Linked DNA regions of Homo sapiens: regions 1 and 2 are each linked to region 3. Evidence: promoter capture Hi-C in human tissues and cell types (Jung and others, 2019). All regions are on one chromosome and are shown on one strand. Each heading gives the region's core, a stretch centred on a gene start or on the middle of the fragment in contact. The rest is flanking DNA. Distances are from core to core; before and after follow the strand shown.

The links. Contacts are between HindIII fragments. The study calls those that stand out against the background at their distance.
Region 1: a fragment that was not itself captured here is called in contact with the fragment with the promoter of TANGO6 in region 3 in 1 of the 25 tissues and cell types used here (pancreas).
Region 2: a fragment that was not itself captured here is called in contact with the fragment with the promoter of TANGO6 in region 3 in 1 of the 25 tissues and cell types used here (IMR-90 fibroblasts).

What each region holds. Positions count from the first base shown.
Region 1 is chr16:68,571,225-68,573,924 of GRCh38, forward strand. It overlaps a transcript of ZFP90 not described here. Among named protein-coding and RNA genes, the nearest start is that of ZFP90, 33 kb to the left of the region's middle. The HindIII fragment of the contact is 5,111 bases long and covers 1-2,700 here.
Region 2 is chr16:69,163,331-69,166,030 of GRCh38, forward strand. UTP4 (UTP4 small subunit processome component) reads left to right here. Exons shown (of 17, transcript NM_032830.3): 15 at 2,011-2,196. Among named protein-coding and RNA genes, the nearest start is that of SNTB2, 22 kb to the right of the region's middle. The HindIII fragment of the contact is 4,452 bases long and covers 1-2,700 here.
Region 3 is chr16:68,842,161-68,844,860 of GRCh38, forward strand. It overlaps TANGO6 (transport and golgi organization 6 homolog), which reads left to right and starts at 1,371. Exons shown (of 18, transcript NM_024562.2): 1 at 1,371-1,551. The coding sequence starts at 1,458. RefSeq lists an enhancer at 1,342-1,611. The HindIII fragment of the contact is 20,381 bases long and covers 1-2,700 here.

The DNA.
Region 1 (2,700 bases), core at 161-2,660, 270 kb before region 3:
AAGAGTAATACATCAACTAGACATTTTAGAGGCATTCCCAGACTGAGGGTTAGGTTAGTCAGAAGTCACATGGTGGATTAAAATTTAAAATCGCTATTTTCCAAACTAGTCTTTATTAAACTCATTTGAAAGGCAAAAAATAATAATAGTAAATAATAAAATTTAAAACTTTTGTCCCCACAGTGGTGCATAGGTATTCGTTGTATGTGCCTCTGTGAATGTTTAAACTCATTTACAGTTAAAGTTGGCCTCCTTTTTCTTATCTGATTCCTCCTCCCACACAACCACCTGCTTGGTTTCCCTCAGGGCATAAGCCTGGATAACTTGTACACCAGCACACCTGAAGGATTTGGGGGAAGGAATAATGAGCACTGATGCTCCTCAGAGTGAGAAGCTGATCCAAGCCTAAGAAAGAAGGGAGGGACCCAGCACGGCGGCTCACACCTGTAATCCCAGCACTTTGGGAGGCCAAGGTGGGAGGATCACTTGAGGCCAGGAGTCGAGACCAGCCTAAGCAACATAGTGAGACCTCATCTCAACAAAAATAAATAATTTTTAGGAAATAATAAAAAATTGTTAAAAGAAAAAGTCTTGGCACTGTCAGAATCAGGCAGAGCGTTGCCACTTGCCAGAAATGCCTTTTGAGGCACCAATTAAAAAGGGAGGGCAGAGGAGCAGAGGGCTTCCTGCAGATGAGGAGCATGAGTGACTATTTGCAAGAGTTGGTGGAAGGATATTACTAATTTTTGCTAATAACTTTTAGTAAAACCCTGGTCATTTTGGAAAAACATACTTTTTTAACAAACACTTTTTTTTTGAGGTGGGGTCTCTGATGCAGTGGTGTGATCATAGCTCACTGAAGCCTCAAACTCCTGGGCTCAAGTGATCCTCTGTCCTTAGTCGCCCAAGCAGCTAGGACTACAGGTGCATGCCACCATGACCAGCTGACAAACACTTTTTTTTTTTCCATTTGGAAAGGTAGCAGACACACTAAAAGACAAACACATTTTAATGGATAAAGGAGTCAAGAAATCTGGACCTGAATTATAATGGTATTTTATTGAGCTGTGAACAGGAAGTATTATTGTAGTAATTAATGGGGCTTTTATTTTACTGTCTGCATTAAAAAACTGGCAATTTGCAATTCCAAAGTTAGAGTTCTCACAGGATCTTGACAGGGACTTTTCTGTTGGCTTGGAGTTGCTGATAAAGCTCCTAAGGTGAAAACAAAATGTCACATTCCTCTGCTTTCTAAAGGGTGTCACAGAGACTGGACACATGGTCCCATAGGACTCACTAGATGTGAGAGTCACAGAGCCACTTGATCCTTGGCCCCTATAGATATAAAAACCATGTAAGGAGGTTCTGATCCAGAGGAGATGGGCCTCATGCTCCTGGGATGAAGCCCCTACCCTGCCCCTACAGGGGTGGGGGACTTGGGCACCAAGAATGAGATATTGGGAGATCTGAAAGCATGGGAGCTTGGCATCTCCATCTCCAGCAAAACCACAGGCCCACTTCACAGCTGTCACCTGGAGTTCTTGGGAGAACTTAATGTTTGTTCCTTAAAATGTGTTCCCTGTAGTGTGGAGGTGGAAGGTGGTAAAGGATCGAACAGAGAGGGGTGCCCCCAACTGTCTGGAGATTTCAGAAGGGAGGGGGCTGCTGCTGGATTAGTCCCTAGCAGCAGAGTGGAGATCTCTAAGGGTCTGCATTTGTGTTATCCCTGGGAAGGAAAGGATAGGACCACTCCATCTGTTTTCCTTGACATCAGAGATCACAAGTCAGGATTTCAGTGGTTCCTGGATAGGGTGTCCTTATAATTGATTGTCCAAACAGGGACCCTGAGAATGAAGGGGAAGCTAATCAGATGGGAAGCTCAGATTGTGCTCTAAAACCCAGATGTATGTTCACCCTGTACCTGGAGCTCCTGGGAAGGAGGACAAGTGGGCAGGAGCCATAAGGCTGTGTCAATGGCTGCTCTGCCAAACTCACCTTGAGACTGGTTAGAGGCAAGGATTGCGTGAGGCCCAAGGGAAACTAGGCTGCCCTGCTGTGAATCGACACAGAGAGCTGGGATGAAGCTGGACCCAGGGGTGCCATCAGGGCAGGCCACAGGCTTCATCGCCAGGTGCAGTGGCACACTTAAAATCCCAGAACTTCAGGAGGCTTGAGGCCAGCAGGTCCAGGCTACAGTGAGCCATGATTATGCCATTGCACCCCAGCCTGGGTGACACAGCAAGACCTGTCTCTAAAAGCAAAACAAAACTCTATATATATATGGTCAGACTAAGTTTCAATAACTGAAAGTAAGCAGAAAATTGTATTTGCTCAGGTTAAGGGATCCTAACATGGGATTTGACAGTGTTGGGGAGTGGGAAGGCATTTTAAGGGTAACATCACACAGGTTAGAAAAGTTTACACCACCAGTTTACAATTAATAATAGGAAGATCTGGGTGTGCCTTTTAAAGAGGTGTCCAAAGGAAGCCCACTGGCATCATCATACATTTTATGAGCTGAGGTTGAGATGTGTAGTTCCGCCAGGTGTGTTGCACACACATGTCAAGAGAGCACCTCCTGAACGCAGGGACATGTGGCACAGCTAGGGACTACGTTCCCCGAAAGCCTTAGCAGCAGCTCACTTCCACTTCTGGGCTGAACGTCTTCCCTCGCAGTCGCTTTTGGTCTGCTCGGCCATG
Region 2 (2,700 bases), core at 139-2,638, 320 kb after region 3:
GGGCTCATCATAGGCCAGCAGTATGCATTGGTTTGATGGGATGCAATTTAAATGGAGAAGCACTAAGATTCTAGAGTAAAGAATCACAAGAGGGAGGAGGAATTTTGAAGTACTCATTTTCCTGATTGTTTTAGAGGAGAGATGACATGGGCTTGGGTATTAAACTGGATATGGGATGGAATAAGATTTTGAGAGTTGAAAGTGACTAAAAGATTGTATCATTCACCTTTACGCTTGCCGATGAGGAAATCAAGCCCTAATAAGATCAGGTACCTAATCTCAGCCAAAATTAGAACCTAATCTACTTTTTTCTATACCAATTTGTAAGGAGATTGTGATTATAAGGAGATCTTTAAAAAAAAAAAAACCTGGGCTGCGGAATATATTAGGAAGTTATCAATAATTATATTAGGAAGTTATCAATAATTCATCTGTAAAATTGGAGATGTTAATATCTACCTCACTGAGCTGTTGGGAAGATTAAATGTAATCCAGGAAGCACATTTAAGTAGAGTGCTAGGCAAATGATGCTTACTGCTTTGATGGTCAGTTTGTTTTTTTTTTTTTTTTTTTGAGACAGAGTCTCGCTCTGTCGCCCAGGCTGGAGTGCAGTGGTGCGATCTCCGATCACTGCAAGCTCCGCCTTCCGGGTTCATGTCATCCTCCTGCCTCAGCCTCCCGAGTAGCTGGACTACAGGCGCCCGCCACCATGCCCGGCTAATTTTTTGTATTTTTAGTAGAGATGGAGTTTCACCATGTTAGCCAGGATGGTCTCGATCTCCTGACCTTGTGATCCGCCCGCCTCGGCCTCCCAAAGTGCTGGGATTACAGGCTTGAGCCACCGCGCCCGGCTGATGGTCAGTTTTTACACTCACACATGCACACACACACTGTCCAAAAAGTGAAATCTCTCAGTTTTATAGATTTGAGTCCTTGACCAAAGACTGAAAGAGTAGTGAAGCCACACATCTTTGCCTTTGTCACACATAATGATAATTTCCCCCATGACACCTTTTACTGGCACTTAGTCCCTTAAGTGCTTCTGAAAGTAAAACTGATGGGAAGTTTTTTATATCTGTTAGATTAGCAAAGATCAAAGACTTGATAATATACAGTGTTCTGAAGGTATAGGGAAACAGTACTCTCACACATTGTGTAAATTATCCTAACCCTTTTGGAGGACATGTTGGCAATACCTTAAAAATTTTAAAGTCCACATGGTCTTTGACTTAGAAATTTCAGTTCTAATCATTCTTTATATATATATATATATATATATATATATGTATATATATATCTGTATATAGATATATATGCTTCTAGCTGTGCAAAAAGACATTTATACAGAGACAGCTTTGTTTGTAGTAGACAAAGATATGAAACAAGCTAATGTCCATTAAGCAGAGTGGATAAGTAAATCATGATACATGGACAAAATGAGTGGACTATTCTGTGTTTCAGAATGGGCATGACCGATATATATGTGTATTAATGTGGGTCAGTCTCCGTGATATAACACTGAGCAACAAAAGCAAGATACAGAACGCTATGTATTATGTGCATAAAATAGCTCTGAAAAGATGGGCAGGGCGCGGTGGCTCACGCCTGTAATCCCAGCACTTTGGGAGGCTGAGGCGGGCAGATCACGAGGTCAGGAGATCAAGACCATCCTGGCTAACACAGTGAAACCCCATCTCTACTAAAAATACAAAAAATTAGCCGGGCGTACTCGTGGGCGCCTATAGTCCCAGCTATTTGGGAGGCTGAGGCAGGAGAACGGCTTGAACCGGGGAGGCGGAGCTTGCAGTGAGCGGAGATCACGCCACTACACTCCAGCCTGTGTGGCAGAGTGAGACTCCATCTCAAAAAAAAAAAAAAGTGTTGGGAGAGCATAGAATGAATATAATACAGTTGAAGCTTTGTATAGATACTTTCTGGTTAGGGATGAGAATGCCCTTCTGGTCTTTCTGAGTACCAGCCTGCATTTCTCTATGTCATGTCCTCCCTCAGGTATTTGAGTACAGCATCCCAGACAAACAGTATACAGATTGGAGCCGGACTGTCCAGAAGCAGGGCTTTCACCACCTTTGGCTCCAAAGGGATACTCCTATCACACACATCAGTTTTCATCCCAAGAGACCGATGCACATCCTTCTCCATGATGCCTACATGTTCTGCATCATTGACAAGTCATTGGTGAGTTCTTCACTGCTACCTCCCAAATCTTCTTCTGAATCTTAAAGTTCTAAAAGCAACAAGTACAATAAGGTAAGAGGACAGAGACTCAGAATAAAGGTAGCTAGTAAATCAGAATACAGGTAGCTAGTACATTTCTTGGAGGAGAGGGGCTTTTGTTTTACAGATTCCCTGGTTTGTGTTCCCACAGTTCTTCGGGAGGCTCTCGGGGAAGGGGCTGGCCTTTGTATACTGGCTTTTGCTGATTTGACTATTTGTCTACTTTGCGAGTAAGCACATAAATCTTACACAGAAAAGTGATTAGGCCAGTATTCGGAAGGTGACCCTCATCCGGAAGTATCATTGATTTGGCTAACTTGCTTTCAACTTTGAACTCTGGGGTATCTGAATAACCTGGTTTCATTAAAGGAGGTACAGGCTGAGGTTTTGACCTCTGTGCCCCTTCGCTAAAGCTACTAAAACGCTGTCTGCAGGCTTGAGGAACTGGTCTTAACATCTTCGAAA
Region 3 (2,700 bases), core at 121-2,620:
TCCCTCTCAGGCCCTGCATTCCAAAATGACAAAGAAAAGAAGAAACAAGAGTCATGCCAAAAAGGGTAATAGCTATGCGCAGCTTATTCTCGCCCAAGGACCGGACCATTAAGAAGTTTGTCCTTTGGGCCGGGCGCAGTGGCTCACGCCTGTAATCCCAGCACTTTGGGAGGCCCAGGTGGGCAGGTCACTTGAGGTGAGGAGCTCAAGACCAGCCTAGCCAAGAGGGCGAAACCTTGTCTCCACAAAAAATACAAAAATTAGCCGGGCATGCTGGGGCACTCCAGTAATCCCAGCTACTCGGGGGGCTGAGGCCAGATAATTGTTTCAGCCTGGGAGGCAGAGGTTGCAGTGAGCCGAGATCACGCCACTGAACTCCAGCCTAGGCGACAGAGCGAGACCCCATCTCAAAAAATAAAATAAAAATAAAGGTCCTGCCCTCAAAAACATTGTCCTGTGTCTGCGGCATGACTTTCAGACAACATGGTTTTTCAACGTCCCACCAGGATTTATGTAGGTGAAAACCTGTTTCCGATAATCTGAATCTCAAATCCATTCTGTTTTACATATAAAAACAGTTTGGCGGAGGGCATGGTTTTGATAGACCCTGAATTTTCGAGGAATGCATCAACCATGAAAACAGAACACAGATCGAACTTTTACTGGGAACTTTACTAAGTTCACTGAAAAAAAAAATCATATTACCCATAACAACATTTGTAGCTTTACATTCACGATGGATATATATGCGTGTGTACGTCTGTACTTAGGTTTTGTTTGTTTGTTTGTTTTGAGATGGAGTCTCGCTCTGTCGCCCAGGCTGGAGTGCAGTGGTGTGATCTCGGCTCACTGCAACCTCGACCTCCCAGCTTCGAGCGATTCTCCTGCCTCAGCCTCCCGGGTAGCTGGGACTACAGGCGCCCGCCACCACGCCTGGCTAATTTTTGTATGTTTAGTAGAGACGGGGTTTCACCATATCGGACAGGTTGGTCTCAAACTCCTGACCTTGTGATCTGCCCGCCTCGGCCTCCCAGAGTGCTGCGATTACAGGTGTGAGCCACCGCGCCCAGCCTGAATATTGTTTTTCTTATCCATACTTCACTGTAAGCAGATGGAAGCATCTGTCTGCTTCATTATGTCTGCCAGTGTTGAGTACCTGAGTATTTTCATATTGAAATATAGCTTTAATGATACATTACTTCTCTCTTCCTTCTTTACATAGCGGTTAATCATATTGAGCTTCTGAAATTGTGCGCGTGGGCAGATTAGCCATTTTTGGGTTCCCTCTTACCCCCCGGACTAAGCCGGGACGGAAAAAAAATGTGAAGGGGGCGTTCCCGATCGATTTGGCCCCGCCCCATAGTGTGCCCAGAGCCTTCTGCCACACTTAACATGGCGGCGGCGGCGCCCTGCCGAGGCGCCTGAGCGGGTCGCGAGCGTGGTGTTACACTCCAGTCATGGCGGCCCGACAGGCCGTGGGCAGCGGGGCTCAGGAGACATGCGGTCTGGATCGGATTTTGGAGGCATTGAAGCTGCTGCTGAGCCCGGGAGGTGAGAGGACGCATCTCCGCGCCGGGCTGGACCCGGGACTCTCAGGGCCGCCCGGCTTCCGGGGCTGCCCTGCCTTCCGCAGCGTGCGCCCCTTAGGCCCGCCTCGGGACCCTCCGCCCGCTGCTGGGGGCTTTGAGCATTGTCTATGCCCGTCCTCATTACGTTCTTGAGGAAACTGAGGCTCAAGGAGGGCGCGGGATCCGTTGACTGCTGATATTAGCCAACATCTCTTGAGCATTTGCCTTGTGCTGGGCTCTGTCAGGCGGGGCCGTTATTTCATTCAGTGCTTACTGCAGCGCTCTTGGGAGGGGGATATGGACCCAGCTCCAGAGAGGGTAGGGCGCCCGCGACGTAGAAATGTGAGGTCCTAGCCGCGTGAGGGCGCAGGGGCCAGCATGGACCCTTGAGATTTGTACGAAATGCCAAGAAGTCCAGACATCGGAAGCAGTGACGTTTGAAATGGGTTTGGGGAGAGTATTTAGGGGTTACCAGGCGCTTTTAATCTTTGTGGTGCGTGGACAGTTTCTTCCCAGTCTAAAATCTGAAGGGATATTGGGAGTGGTTGAAGCTGCTACTCCTTTTGCGACTGAGGACACCCAAGGCTCACTGAAGAAATTAAGTAACCTGTCCAAGATCACGTGGTCAAATTAGGGGCAGAACACGGACCTAGGCCCGAGATCTACTGAACCCCCTTCTCAGAATCAGACAAATTGTTCAGTATAGGGGCTCTGATGTTATCTGGAGCTTTTGGAAAGGACGTGGAAGATAGAGCTCTGCTTATCACTGGGGTGTATATTTGGGGGAAGGGATGGGAAGGGATCTGTAGAATTAGCAAGGGCACATGAAAGGCCAAAGGGGATCACCTCCCAGTCTCAGATTTTATACTTAAAACTGCAAAAACTTCTGCAAACATTACACCACACCAGCGGGAAGTGAACACAAGTTACTAATATTAGTAAATGAGTGCCTACTAAGTATCAGTCCCCATAGTAGGCTGTTGACATACACATCATTTAATCCTCATTACGATCCCCTGGGATCGGTACTACTTGTATTCAATTTTTACGGATGAAGGACCAAGGTTCAGGTACATTGGAAATTGCCCAATGTCAGACTAGTAAGTGGCAGAATTTGAATTTAGGTTATTTC